Linked DNA regions of Homo sapiens: region 2 is linked to region 1. Evidence: promoter capture Hi-C in human tissues and cell types (Jung and others, 2019). All regions are on one chromosome and are shown on one strand. The core of a region is centred on a gene start or on the middle of the fragment in contact, and the rest is flanking DNA. Distances in the headings are between cores, read along the strand shown.

Region 1 (7,802 bases), core at 2,462-4,961:
TTGTTTCTATAGATATTAATTTAACTAAAAGTATCCCTTATGGGAAACGAAGGGATGGGCCGAATTAAAGGAATAGGTTGGGCTAGTTAACTGTAGCAGGAGCATGTCCTTAAGGCACAGATCGCTCATGCTATTGTTTGTGGCTTAAGAATGCCTTTAAGGGGTTTTCCACCCTGGGCCGGCCAGGTGTTCCTTGCCCTCATTCCGGTAAACCCACAACCACAACCTTCCAGCGTGGGCATTATGGCCATCATGAACATTTCACGGTGCTACAGAGATTTTGTTTATGGCCGGTTTTGGGGCCAGTTTATAGCCAGATTTTGGGGGGGCCTGATCCCAACAGTCAGGAGTTCAAGACCAGCCTGGGTGACATGGTGAAACCCCGTCTCTTCTAAAAATACAAAAATTAGCTGGGTGTGGTGGCACGTGCCTGTAATTCCAGCTCCTCCCAAGGCTGAGGCATGAGAATTGCTTGAACCTGGGAGGTGGAGTTTGCAGTGAGCCAAGATCGCGCCATTGCACTCCAGCCTGGGCAACAGAGTGAGACTCCATCTCAAAAGAAAAAAAGCAAATAAACAAACAAACAAAACAAAACAAAACAAAACAAAACAAAAAAACAACCAAACTGATAGCTTTCTTATATACCAGTAACACCTAATCAGAAAATATGAATGGAAAAAAATCTATTCAACAAATAGCAACAAGAAACAAGATTAAACCTTAGAAATGCAGAGTCCCTATAAAGAAAACTGTAAAACATCAAGGAAACACTTGAGGACACTCATGTGGGAAAACATTTTTTGGGTAAGACCTCAAAAGCACAGGAACAAAAGCAAACTAGACAAATGGAATTACATCAACTAAAAAGCTTCTGTACAGGAAAGGAAACAATCAGCAGAGTGAAGAAACAACATACAGAATGGAAGAAAATATTTACAAGCTATCCATCCGATAAGGGATTAATAACCAGAATGCAGAAGGGAGTCAAACAATTCAATAGAAAGAGACAACTAATCCGATTTAAAAACAGGTAAATGATCTGAGTAATTTATCAAAAAAAGACAATATGTATGGCCAACAAGCATATGAAAAAAACTAAAAATAGATCCACCATATGACCCAGCAATTCCACTGCTTGTTATATACCCAAAAGAAAGGAAGTCAGTATATCAAAAAGATATCTGAACATACATGTTGACTGCAGCACTATTCACAATAGCTAAGATATGGAATCAACCGAAATGTACATCAAATAAATGGATACAGAAAATGTGGTATATGTACACAATGGAATATGATTCAACTATAAAAATAAGGAAATTATGTCATTTGCAGCAACAGGGATGGAACTGGAGGTCATTATGTTAATTGAAATAAGCCAGGTACAGAAAGACAAATATTGCATGTTTTCACTCGTATGTGTGAGTTAAAAAAGTTGGTCCCATGGAGGTAGAGGGTAGAATGATGATTACCAGAGGATGGGAAGGGTGGGGTTGGGGGGAGGTATGAGATGAATAGAAGTGGGTTAATGACTACAAACATACAGTCAGATATAATGAATAAGTTCCAGTGTTTGATACCACGGTAAGATGACTACAGTTAATAATTTATTGTATATTTCAAAACAACCAGAAGAAGAGATGTGAAATGTTTCCAACACAAAAAATGATGTTTGAGGTGACAGACATCCTAATTACCCTGATTTGATCATTATACATTGTATGCTATCCTTGTATCAAAATATCACATGTATCCCATAAATGTGTATAATTATTATATTCAATAAAAAAGAACTTTAATAAAAATACAGGTATATTTTTATTATTTCATGTGGGAAGGGCTGTTCTAAGCAAAATACCAAAAGCAAAAAGCAGAGCTCCACAGATCTGCAGCTTATAAATCAAAATCATATGCACATCAAAGCTACCAAACTCCAAAAATGGACCTAAAGGCATGCAACAATTTAGTATATGACAAAAGCGGTTTTTCAAATCAATGGGAAGATCAATGGTGTTAGAAATGGCTATGATTTAGAGGAAAAAAGGAATTCCAAAAGCTGTATTCCAAACTCACCCCACAATAAAATAAATTCCAGACGTATCCAACATTTTACAAGTACCACAGAAAAACAAGAGTTTATTTTAAAAATAATCTTGGAGTGGGGAAAGCCCTTTAAAACACAGCACAAAGCCCAAAATGCCTTAAGGCAAAATATTTGACTCCTAAAAATTTTAAATTTTCTATTTTGAAAAAGCCCAAACCAGAATCAAACACCATAATCAGAGTCAAAAGACAAATTGAGAAGCATGTTTTCAACATACATGGAAAAAAATATGAGCTGGCAAATCACAAAGAAATACAAATGGCGAAAACACAAATGAAGGGATTTCAATCTCACCAATAAACGCAAAACGTCGACCTGGCAGGAATGCAGTGACCTGTCAAAGCCCACAGGACCAGAGTCCCGTCCAGGGCGGGAATGTCAATGGCAATCTCCCACCCTTACCCACTTCGTAGAGACCACCGGACAGAGAAACCTATGTCCAGAAGACAAGTTACGAACTGAAAAATCTGCGAGTACCCACCCGGCGGAGGACGAGTGGAGCGCCCCCTGCCGCCCCTGGTGTTAGTCAAACGACACCAGCTTCCCTTTGATGACAGAAAAAAGGGTGTGCGTGCGTGCCTAAAGCTCTAACGGCATTCAAAAATTCTGAAACTGTTCACAGCTCCTGCCTCTTCATACACTGGCAGAGTGTCGGGGGGGATGACTTTTATATATTTCTGACATGCCTGCATTAGAAGAAGTATTGCATATTATTTTCAATTTTAAAATTAAGCCAATAAACAACAAGGAAAATATTTGCTGTGTTGCAAAGAGTTGGGCTCATTCATTAAAATAGGGCTCTAACACAGTAACAGAAAAGACAGCATCGACAGCAAAATGGGGAGAGGATAAGACACCCGGCAAGTAGCACACTCGACCAACTGCTGAAACGAAAGCAGCTCGTTTTCGTCTTGACGCGGGAAGACTTTTTATAGCTAAGTAAAGTGGCGCTCCCGGTGCGCCGCCGGGGTCTTCATGGGGCTCCTCAGGATGTGCATCAAACAGAAAAAACCTCCATTTTTATATTTTGGGGAAGCTCCCCACCCCTTTCCGGGCCCATCCCAGGGGACGCGAGACCCCGAGGAGCGCGGCAAGAAGAGCGGCCCGGGGGTCCGGACTGCGCCCCTAGGACTCCGGCCATCCTGGCCCTAGGCACGGCGCCCGGTAGAAAGCGCGCGGGAGGGCACGAGGGGGAGGAAGGCCGGAGATCTGAGGAGATCCAAGGTGGGAGGGACGCCGGTCTGACGGGGCCCAAGGGGGTAGGGGCGGGGAAGGGACCGAGGCCGTCCGAGGCGGACGGGGGTGCGGGAGGGCCTGAGGGGGTCCAAGGCCGGGCGAGGGGAAGGGTGGGAACCCCGAACGGGGGAGAGGGCGCGGCCTTGGCCCTGGGGAGGAGGCCGCCGCGCGTCCGTGAGGGGAGGGGACCAGCGTAAACGCAGGAGGCAGTGCGTGCTCGCGGGGAAGAGTCCACGATTCGTGTGGAGGACGCACCGGCTCCGGTGTCCGTGATGGGAGAGGGTCCTGGCCGGCGACGACACGCGCCCCCCACTCACCGTCAGAGCCGCAGCCTCACGCGCGAAGGAACGGCATCCCGCAGCACCTTCAGACAAAGGGCTGCCCCGCCCCGTCTGCGCAGCCGCCAATCCCTGGGGGCTCCTGCCCCTCAGTTCCCGCCCCCACAGCCGAGTTCGCCAATCCTGGAGGGCAAGCATGTTTACGTCATTTGGCCCGCCTGCCCGCCCGAAGCCTTTCTCGGTGACCGACTGCAGGGAGCTCTCAGGAGCCACCGAGAGCCAGACCTCCGCGATCCCTAGAGGGGCCGAACACCTCTGGGCAATGGGCCCGGCCGGCTCCCCGGCCGCACTTCCGGGCGCGGAGGTTACAGCCCATCGCCGAGCCTTACCCGCTCGCAGTCCCGGTTCCCGAGCTCCTGCCGCCGTCGCCCTGTGGAGGACACCCCTGCCGGCCCCGCAGTCCCTCCTCGACTTGCGCTGGCTTCGGCCGTCCTGGAACTCGAGCTCGTTCCCCCCTCCGAGCCTTTTGCCCTTGCGGTTCCCGCTGCTGGGAACGACCTTGCCCTCAGCCGCCTGGCTGGTCCCTGCGCCGCTGCAGTGCGAATGTCGCCTTCTCAGGGGCCCTTTCTCTTCCTTCGTTGCAACACTGAAGTCCTCTTGTTTGATGACTTGCGTGAGGTTATTCCTCCCACTTAGGAGGCTGAGTGCTGCGAGGTCCGAGGCGCAGCCGCTCTTCGCTGTGTCCGGCCCGGCGTGCTCCCGACAGGGGGCGTCACTGAACAGCGACCGTCTCCGTCGCCCACTCGGCCCTGGTGTTTGCTTTTTGGTGTGTTTACACCGCGCACCTGGGGGAGAGGGGCGGGCCTTCACGAGGGCGCGGGCCACACCCGTGTGGAGGCTTCGGGCACAGCCCAGGACCTGACAGCCGCGGCAGGGAGGGTGGGGCTGGTTTGGAGCGGTGTCAGGGGACGGGAAGGCTGACGCCTAGTCCACCTTCTGCTGGCCCCACTCCCGAAGGTCAGGTCCGCGTCGTCCATTGGGCGCGTGGGCGGGCCCAGACTCTCAAGAGGCTTCCCCACAGGGCGGGGCTGGGGGCTGCGTGGGGGCGGCGGGGAAGGCTTAAGGTTAGGGGGTAGGCTTGAAGCGAGTGCCCGGCCCGTGCTGTTGGGAGCGGAGGCCGGGAGGATGTGGCGATAATTCCGTACTTGCCGCGCACCAGGCAGACGCGAAGTCTGTGCTACGCTTCAGCGAACTTAGCAGCCCTTGCGGGCAGGGGTTCGCACTTCACGGAGCTACCATCCACCACGCGCGTTTCGAGCAATGGGCCCGTTGCCTGGCGCACTAGAAGCCAAAACGGTGGCACCAGTTTTTGAGAAAAGAGAAGGCTTTATTATTTCAAGGTCGACGGCCAAGGAGACCGGAGGCATGGCTCAAATGTGGCTCCCACATGTGGGCTTAGGTCAAAGTCGACGGGTTAGGGAGGACAGGTTGGCACACAGAAGTGCTGGCGGGCAGGTTTCAATAGGAGGGCTTTAAACTTGGCCATTTATGGTAAGGTGTGGAATGGCAGGTTTCAGCACCAGATCTTCCAGGATAATGGACCCTTCCCTTCTGAAAGCGTTCCGCCCCTCAAGCTCCGGTCATGTCCCTGTCTTCTTGGCTCCACAGGGAGGAAACGTTGGTTCCGAGTTATGATTTTCCTCCTTTGTGCATGTCCGGGTTACATGACTTTCAGTTTTGGCTCTGCTATACCTCCTGTTACCAACAGAATAGGGTCAGTTTGGGCCAGTCTTGTGGTTACACCTCAGTGTCACAGGATTTCCTCTGCCAAAGGGCTGTGAAGCTCAGGACCAAGGTAATCAAAATTCAGCTCTACTATTGGATTGTCCTGGATTGTTTTAGCAGTTGACAGGGATCAAGCTCTGTCCCAGCAACCTTGATCCCAACAGAGAACTGATGCTCCTAGGACCTTCACCTCAGACCTCAGTGCATCCTGGTTTTTGTTTTTCTTCCTCCTCCACAACTTTTTTATTTTGCAAATGTTGATACATTCATAAAGGTTGAAAGAATAATACAATGAATACCTCCGTGCCCTTCACTTAGATTTAGCAGCTGACATCCTCTCTAGCACGTCCCTTCTGTGTCTCTGTCACTCTTTTTCCTTCAACAGCACAATGTTTATTGAGTGCTTGTGTGCTAAGCACTAAGTGTCGGGGCTACATCAGTGAACAAGCAAGTGCCTAACAAATCCATGTCTTTCTGGACCATACATGTGAATGGAGACAGTAGGCAATACGCAGAATAAATGTAGGAATTACAGAGTGTGTCCAGAGATGGTGAGGACTACAGAAGGTCTGGGCAGGTGCCATTGTGTCTGCTGGTTCACCTGGGCGACATGAGGCAGCAGCTGCCCCCTCTTCCTCTGGCTCCTTCAGCTCCAAGACTAAAGGCTCCAGCTTCTCCTATAGGGCAACAAAGGGGTTTCAGCGCATCCTGGGCTCCAGCTTGAGGTCACAGACCTCAACTTGTCTCTCCTCACTTTACATCCATCTTCCCTTCCCAACTGTCTGCCCTGTTCCAGCATCAGATGCAAAGACAACAGCCTTACAGGAACTGTTAACTATGTGCCACAATGGTGTAAGGCACAGTCCCTGCAACAAATCGTATATGATATATATAATATATATACACACAATTTACGTATCGTTCATGAGTATACAGTTTACTTTTTTTATTTTTTATCCTTTTTTTGAGACCGAGTTTCGTTGTCGCCCAGGCTGGAGTGCAATGGCATGATCTTGGCTCACCGCAACCTCTGCCTCCTGGGTTCAAGCCATTCTCCTACCTCAGCCTCCTGAGTAGCTGGGATTACAGGCGCCTGCCATCATGCCCAGCTAATTTTTGTATTTTTAGTAGAGATGGGGTTTCGCCATGTTTTGACACCAGTTGTTTTGGAAAAACTCAAACTGTTTTTTTTTCTGCTCTCACACTGCCACAAGTGGGATTCAAACCCACACCTACCTTAGGAGACCAGAAAATTGTTTCAGAAAAACTCTCAAACCCTATTTTTCCTCTGCTCTCATACTAACAACACAGAAGACTTATGTAGCCCCAAAATATATGGGGATTTCTCCTCATCAGCAAGCCATCAATTCTACTGGGTGTCCTCCAGTTCAGCTCCTTCACTGTCTACCTGGAGATAGTGCCGGATCCCACAGGATGAGGGCTCAGTTCCCGACTCCCCAATCCCCGACAGGAGTCACAGCCTGGGCCTCCAGAACTGATTGACTTCCTTCAAGTCAGTTCACGACTCCCCAGTCCCCGACGTGAGTCATAGCCCGGGCCTCCAGAACTGATTGACTTCCTTCAAGTTGGGGTTTCCATGACTCCCTCTTTGGGTTTGATTTGCTAGAACAGCTCACGGAACTCAGGGAAACCCTTACTTATGTTTGCCAGTTTATAATGAAGGATATTACAGAGGATACAAATAAAGAGATGTGTAGGGCAAGGCATGGGGAGAGGGGTGCAGAGCCTCTGTGCCCTTGCAGGGCACACAGCCCTCCAGGAACTTCCATGTGTTCGGCTCTCCAGAAGCTCTACAAACCCAGTCCTCTTGGGTTTTCATGGAAGCTTCATGACATCGATATTTTTTCCACCAGGCTATGAGGTGGGACCCTCTCTGGAATGATGGTCTTATGACCCACAATCAGAGAGGTAGGGGAAGATTAGGGTCCTGCGGGCAGGAGGTCAGAGAGATTTTGTTCTCTGAAGCCTAATGCATCCAATGTTATAACAAACGAGTGTAACAAGGGCTATGGCAGTTATGAGCCAGAAACCATACAAACGTGTGTGTGTGTGTGTGTGTGTGTGTGTGTGTGTGTATGGAAAGAGAGAGAGAGACCAGAAGTGCTATGCTGGAAACTATTCTTTTGAGGTTGTGTTCACATTTTTTTTAACCAATTTAACATATTATGTTACTATCTCACTTAAGATTGGCATTGACTGTACAACAGAAAGCTGATTACAGTGGCTGAACCAAATAGGTGGTTTTTTTTATGAGTCAATTTTTCTAGGAATACGGAGCCCATCCAAGGCCACACAATGCCACCAGGCCTCTAGGCTCCCCCTTTATTTTCCATTGGCCATCTTAATAAGCAGCTTTCATTTTTTTTTTTTTTTTTTGC
Region 2 (7,802 bases), core at 3,812-6,311, 75 kb after region 1:
TGACTACAGCCTCCATCTCCCAGGTTCAAGTGATTCTCCTGCCTCAGCCTCCCGAGTAGCTGGGATTTACATGCACCTGCCACCCTGCCTGGCTAATTTTTGTATTTTTAGTACAGACGGCATTTCACCATGTTGTCCAGGCTGGTTTCAAACTCCTGACTTCAAGTGATCCACCTGCCTTGGCCTCTAAAGTGCTGGGATTACAGATGTGAGCCACTGCGCCCAGCCTAAATCCATTTTCATAACAGTCTCTCCTACTTCCTTTGATAGACTATATAAAACAGCCACTACAGAGTCTTTCCTGGACGTTACTATTCCCTCATCAATGCACTTCTCTAAGCCTGGGTGAAAGGAGTGCCCTCTTGCACCTCCTGAACCTTTGAATCCATTCTCTGTTGTAAAATCAGGCAATTCTGCATGTCAGCCTCACTCAATGGAGGCCATGACCAAATATAGACTTCCATTAACAAGCTGCTACTGCAACTAGCACAGTGAATCCACAGCCTGCCATGTGTGCACTCATATAACAAACCCAGTCCAATCCAACATTACATTATCTCTAGTTGAACAGCCTTAGAATCTGCTCCCTTTCATATCACCCACACTTCTGCCAACAGTAAGCTGGAAAAATCTTCCAATTATTTGGCACTCTCTCTCTCAGGTCACACTTTTCCCTCATTTCCCAGGTCTCCTGGAGTTTCACTACAGGAAGCAATCAAAGTTGGTCGATATTGGGAACAATCCACACTCCCCTGCAAAGTGACAGCTTTAAGAATAATGTGTGTAGCTGCAGGTAATTGATTTTGACGTAGTTTTCTGCTATATTATACTTACAATCAAACTTCTTTTCTCCCCCTCTCCATGAACACTGGACTTGTTTTTTTTTCTTTTTTTTTTTTTGTTGCTATTACAGGAACAGCTGCTATTAAACATTTTGGGACACATCTTCTAGTTCTCATGCAAGTACATCCCCAACATGTATGTGCAGGAGTGGAACTGGGTTGTGGGTTACATAATTTTTTTTTTGAGACGAAGTCTCGCTTTGTCGCCCAGGCTGGAGTGCAGGGGCGCGATCTCAGCTCACTATAACCCCCGCCTCCCAGGTTCAAGCGATTCTCCTGCCTCAGCCTCCTGAGTAGCTGGGATTACAGGCTCCCACCACACCACCTGGCTAATTATTTTAGTAGAGACAGGGTTTTGCCGTGTTGGCCAGGCTGGCCTCAAACTCCTGACCTCAGGTGATCCACCTGCCTTGGCCTCCCAAAGTGCTGGGATTACAGGTGTGAGCCAGTGCATCTGGCCAGGGCTAATTTTTAACTGTATTAATAATGCCAAAATATTTTCCAATGTGTCATACCAATTTCCACTCCTATCAGCCGCGTATGAGAGTAACTGTTGCTAAATATATTTGGTGTCATTCTCTGTCAGATCTTTAATTTTTGCCAACCTAGTGAGGGTAAAATGACATCTTGTAATATCATTTTGCATGTCTGTGATTAATAATGACCTTTGCCCCTCTTTTCATACAGGTTGGTCATGGGAGGGTTTTGGGTGATGAAGAAGCCTTGGCAGGTTTCGTGGCAGAGAAAAATCCAACTAAGTCATGCTGCCTGGAGAGTCAGGGCCTCATAAATTGGGATTAGAGGCAGGAGTTTTAGTCCTAAAGATCTTACAGATTCCCAACCATACAAAGTGCCTCCCACCTTACATGAAAATGGGCAATAATGGAATCCACTGATTACATTTTAATGTTTGTGAATACACATATAAAACACACATTAACCTTAACAATTGGTGGGGAAGATTGGCAGCACAGGACTATGCACAACAAATTAGCAGGCACTAAGGCAGAATATCTTTTACAGCAGAAAGACCAAATCTGTCCCTTTCTGATGCACATCTTCAGTTTTGGGTCATGAGCTAGTGGTGGAGGTCAAGGCCAAGGTCAACCTAAGAAGTCTACAATAGCATGCATCAATGGAAATGCTGCAGAACAAACATGGAGGAAAAAGTAAAAATGCTCTTGTAACCATCAACACCTGCAAATATGCCACTTACTCTTTTTCTCTTGTGAGTGCAGTGAGCATGACTAAACACAGTAGCTCTCTGGGAAGAGCAAGAATAAAGGAGTCTTCAGAATGAGTTGTAAGATATGTATGATGCTTACAAAGTGGAGTTCACAATTGTCCTGTTTAATGTCAGTCTCCTTATTTTAAGAATGCTTCAGGTGACAAAGGCCTGTGTCAGCAGTATGGATCATGATGAGATTCCTGGAAGGCTGAACCTCTGCTGGTACAGGCATAAAACTCCTCCAGAAATGGCTTCTTTTTATTAACTAAAGAAACTGAAAATGCCTTTCTCCTCTCAATTTTAATGTAAGTGGTTAAGAAGCCAGGAGAGGCCGGTGTGGTGGTACACAGCTGTAGTCCCTGCTACTCATGAAGTTGAGGCAGGGGAATCACTTGAGCCCAGGAGTTCAAGGTTACAGTGAGCTATGACTGCACCACTGCACTCCACCCTGTGCAACATGATACAGCATGATACTGTCTCAAAAAAAAATGCTAGGAAGTACCAAGTGTATGATTGCTCTATGCCAATCATCAAATAGAGCAGAGACCATCTAGCTCCCAACCAATATTAATGCCATCACCAAGCCAAGTAATTAGGAAACAGAAATTTGACTTGAATAGAGAACATTAAAAGCCATGATAAATAAAATTCAGTATGATTTGGATGAAATATTTAATGGAAAATAAAAACATATTCCAAACTGATAAGGTTAATCTGGAGAAATGTTTTAGCCATAAAACCCAAAACCGGATTTGAGTAAATACCGAGGTTCTTAGTTAAGTAAACACCTCCATCTTATGTAAACAGGTTTAAAACAAAAAAAATATTATTTTCTGATTTGGTTGTGTAATCGTGGGCCTCAGAGGAAAAGCTTCCTAACCCTTTTGTCATATATATATATATTTTTTGGAGTCTTGCTTTGTGGCCATGCTGGAATGCAGTGGTGCAATCTTGGCTCACTGCTACCTCCGCCTCCTGGGTTCAAGCAATTCTCCTGCCTCAGCCTCCCAAGTAGCTGGGACTACAGGCGTGCACCACCATGCCCAGCTAATTTTTGCATTTTGTAGAAATGTGGTTTCACCATGTTGGCCAGGATGGTCTTGATCTCTTGACCTCGTGATCTGCCCACTTCAGCCTCCCAAAGTGCTGGGATTACAGGTGTGAGACACCGCGCCCAGCCTCCTTTTGTCATCTCTTGATGGAACCTCAAAGAAGAGATCCTTGGGGGAAACTGAATTTCTTTTTGCTTCCTTCTTAAAAGTTCTTCTCTAGAAGAAGTTGTAACTGGGTAACAAGCTCTAAGTCCCTGGATCAGCCTGCAGGCAAGAGAGCTGGGTGAATTGACATTTAAGTTTTGACTTAACTTCAGGAGATTAAGGTTTCCAGCCACCTCAGGAAAAGCCATGAACTCTGTTCTTGCAGTGTAACATAGCTATCTGTGATGGGTAAGTGAAGCCATAAGCCACAGGCTCCCACCCTTGGACATTTTCCTGATTTTTCTTCATGACAACATATCTAGAAGACCCATCTACCAAATCCTGTTTAAGTAAAATGTACAATTTCCCATTTTGAATTAGTTGGATATATTGGGCCAGCTACAAGACTGCAAGCTCCTTGCTGGCAGCGTCTTAACTCTTGGAAACCTGGAGGTGGATTACAGTGTTATCTGACTTTTTAGCAAGGTCTCAACTATTTTAATCTACACAAAGACTCACCTTATTCCTTGACAAACTTTTGCTTATAATCATGTTTCTCTTCCCTGTGAATTGAAGCTTAAGGTATCATATTCCTTATAACAGAATAAAAACGTTTTGAAGAGGCCCAAACAAACAAAGAAAACCCTAGCCTGGTTCCATCACACTTGGAAGTGCAAGGATCTCAACTACTTTCTTTGAAGTTGAAATAAATCATACAAAAAAAAAAAAAAAAAAAAGCAAAGCAAAGCAAAGTAAGTGGTCTCCAGTGAAATACCTAACTGTACCTTAGGGTCTGGTGCCATGAAATGCATCTAAATAATTAAGTTTCACATATCTACAGGGCTCAAGAAGGGGGCTCATCCTCTGAATCTGAAGCAAGGTGTGCTATTGTGGGATTGCTGCTATATACTTCAGCAGCCTGCCTTTAGTTAGCAGCTCACTGGGAGAGTGAAATCCCTTAAGAGCTGAATCTCCAAAAGGAAAACCATAAAGTGACTCATTTCTCACGAGTATGACTCTCATATAATGTATAACTGTGAAGAATTTATAGACTAATCAGTTACTCTCCACTGTGAACTGTACAATGTTGAATGAAAGATGACTGTGCGCTAGAGTTCCCCACACTTACTACATTCATAGACTTGCTCTCTAATGTGAATTGTATGGATTTTCTCATGACTACTAAGAGTTATTCTCTAACTGAAGGTTTTTTCACATCGATTACACGTATGAGGTTGCTCCCCACTGTGAATTCTCTGATGTTGAATAAGGTGAGAGCTTTGTCAGAAGGATTTTCCACATTTGGCACATACATAGGGTTTCTCTCCAGTGTGAATTCTCTTGTGTTGGATAAGGGATAAGCATGCACTGAAGGATTTCTCACACTCATTGCACATGTAGGGTTTCTCTCCAGTGTGAATTCTCTGATGTTGGATAAATTGTGAATGCTGACTGAACGCCTTGCCACAGTCACTACATTCATAAGGTTTCTCACCAGTATGAATTCTGTGATGCTGAATGAGAGAGGAACAAACATTGAAGGCCTTCCCACATTCACTGCACTCATAGGGATTCTCTCCAGTGTGAATTCTTTGATGGTGGATAAGGTGTGCACTCTGGCTGAAGGCCTTCCCACAGTCACTGCACTCATAGGGCTTCTCTCCATTGTGTGTTCTCTCATGCTTAATTAGGGTGGATATCTGCCCAAAGGTTTTCCCACACTCATTACACTCATAGGGTTTCTCACCAATGTGACTCCTCTGATGCTGAATAAGGTGTGACCCCTGGCTAAAGGCCTTCCCACATTTGTGACACTCATAGGGTTTGTCTCCATTATGTATTCTCTGATGTTGAACAAGGGAAGAAAGCAAACTGAAGGCTTTATCACATTCATTACATTCATAGGACTTCTCACCATTGTGTGTTCTTTGATGGTGAATAAGATTAAAACTCTGGCTGAAAGCTTTTCCACACTCACTACATTCATAGGGTTTCTCTCCTGTGTGAATTCACTGATGCTGAATAAGATGTCCCTTTTGACTAAAGGTTTTCCCACACACACTACAACCATAAGGTTTCTCTCCAGTGTGAATTCTCTGATGCTGGATAAGGGATAGACGAGCACCAAATGATTTTCCACACTCATTGCAGATATAAGGTTTCTCTCCAGTGTGAATTCTCTTATGTTGAATAACTTGTGAGCATTGACTAAAGGATTTCCCACATTCATTACACCTATAAGGTTTCTCTCCAGTGTGAATTCTCTGATGGACAGTAAGAGTTCGGTTCAGGCTAAAGGATTTTGCACATTCATTACATTCATAGGGCTTTTCTCCTGTATGAATTCTCTGATGCTGAATGAGAAATAATTGTGTACTGAAGGCTTTGCCACACTCCTTACAGTCATAAGGTTTCTCTCCAGAATGAATTCTCTGATGCTGAATAAGGTTTGATTGTCTGTTGAAGGCTTTCCCACATTCTTTGCACTTGTAAGGTTTCTCTCCACTATGAATTCTCTGATGATGAATTAGATTAGAGCTATGACTAAAGGCTTTCCCACACTGATTACACTCATGATGTTTCTCTCCTGTATGAATTTTTAGATGTTGAACATAAGATGAATGTGTACTAAAAGCTTTCCCACATTTAATACACTCATAGGGTTTTTCTCTAGTGTGAATTTTACAATGCTGAATAAAGTATGAGTGAACACTGAAAGATTTGCCACAATCCTCACATGTGTAGAGTTTCTTACCAGTGTGGATTCTCTGATGTTTACTGAGGATAGAGGGCCAACTGAAAGCTTTTCCACATTCATTGTGCTCATAGGTCTTCTCTCCACTATGAAATCTCTGGTGCTGGTTAAAAGCTCTGTTCTGATTGTAAGTTTTTCCACACCCAGTACTCTCAAACCATCTCTCTGGATTATTCATCCTCTGATTCTCACTAAGAACTGAGCTCTGTCTGGGCACTTTCACTAACACATCTGTCTGATAGGCTCTTTCTCCTAATTGGAAACTCTGGAGGTTAATGAGGTCCTCATGTTGTTGCAAGTTTTCTACACTTGACACACTTGGATGGAGACTCTCCTCTCTAGACCCTCTAAGATGTTTGGCAGGATTTGAGTCTGTAATGCAGTTTTCTCCAACAGCATTGAACTTCTGGCCATTCTCTCTAGAGAGGGTTTTCACATACCTCATGGTAATTTCTCTGAAATTGCTCTTCTGGGAGAATGAGTTCTTAACTCCTTCTACTGCATATTTTCTCCAGCAATTCTCTAACTTTCCCTCAGTTTTACTCATCTCTTCAGTTTCCTTAAAAATATTCCTTACATGATCTTCTGATTTTGCTCTCTGGGATTCCAATTCTTCAGAAATGTCCTGCTTTGGAATCATTTCCTCTTTTTCAATCCTAGAATCACAGCCTGAAAGAATGAAAAAGAAAAAAAAAGTGAATCGCTTGCATTTTACTATGGAAGAAAGAATTAGAGAATAAACAGAAATATTTGTATCAAACAAATATCTTCTAGGATAATACTGATATTCAGAATGCAAATAAAAAAAAAAGCAACAAATATGACCCCATTGGGGAGAGGAAAAAGAGAAGCATGCTGGTAAAGCAATGAACACTGGTGTGGGAAGGAAGAAGGAAGGTAATATGCCCAAGGTCAAAGGCTTAAATCTGCAACCAGGCTGACCTTTCCTGGAGTAGGAAAGGCAAGATCTGAGAAAGGATTTGGGGAGAGTTACCAGGAGGGAGGAATTGGAGGCTGCCTCCACTATTCATGTCATTGCTGCATACTTTGTAAACAAGGTATCTTCTTATGGCTTACACATAGCATACTCAAATATTTGTTGAAAATAAATGATAAATGACTCATAATAAATGAGGTGTACATCAGTGCAATAGATGATGAAAAAAACTATTTGATCTAGACAACTTGGTTTCACAGAAGCAAATCAGGAAAAACAGAAAAAAGCAGCAACCTACTCAGGAAATAGCTTGGGCAGCACAAGGCAAAAAGGCCAAGTATAAACAACAGTCCCAAATCACACATTTCCAGTGAACAAAAGTGTCCAAAAATTTGTGAAAACTATAAAACTGAATTCTGAGACCCAATGAAAGGAAGCTTATTAAAAAGAAAAATCCAAAACCAACCAACAAAACAAATAAACAAACAAAAAACAAGCACTAAGTCACATAGATACAAAGACTGTGGGAAGGATAACTGAGGTCAGAACAGTAAGAGGGCAGCCCTGTGTTGAGATACCACAAAAGGACAATGGAATCTTCTTTTTGCAAATGGCGGTTATCATTAGTTATAATGGGATGCTCCTTGAGACTGCACTGCTTGAACAGGGAGACTGAGCTAAAAATACTAACTGGATGAGGCCTAAAATTGAGTTAAGTATGGCTGGGTGTGGTGGATCACGCTTGTAATCCCAGCACTTTGGGAGGCCAAACCGGGTGGATCACCTGAGGTCAGGAGTTTTAGACCAGCATGGCCAACATGGCAAAACCACATCTCTACTAAAA

Evidence for each region. The method cuts DNA at HindIII sites, captures the fragments that hold promoters and counts their contacts. A contact is called where the count stands out against the background at its distance.
Region 2: a contact is called between a fragment that was not itself captured here and the fragment with the promoter of ZNF250 in region 1, in 4 of the 25 tissues and cell types used here (H1 embryonic stem cells, lymphoblastoid cells, mesendoderm cells and 1 more).

The regions. Positions count from the first base shown.
Region 1 is chr8:144,897,742-144,905,543 of GRCh38, forward strand. It overlaps ZNF250 (zinc finger protein 250), which reads right to left and starts at 3,712. Exons shown (of 6, transcript NM_001109689.4): 1 at 3,658-3,712. It overlaps LOC124902042, which reads left to right and starts at 3,883. Exons shown (of 1, transcript XM_047422534.1): 1 at 3,883-4,540. The coding sequence starts at 3,941. The coding sequence ends at 4,540. RefSeq lists enhancers at 3,058-3,662, 3,663-4,265, 4,266-4,869 and silencers at 3,396-3,505, 4,566-4,645. The HindIII fragment of the contact is 10,274 bases long and covers 1-7,802 here.
Region 2 is chr8:144,971,864-144,979,665 of GRCh38, forward strand. It overlaps the pseudogene ZNF252P. Among named protein-coding and RNA genes, the nearest start is that of ZNF16, 25 kb to the left of the region's middle. The HindIII fragment of the contact is 3,341 bases long and covers 3,392-6,732 here.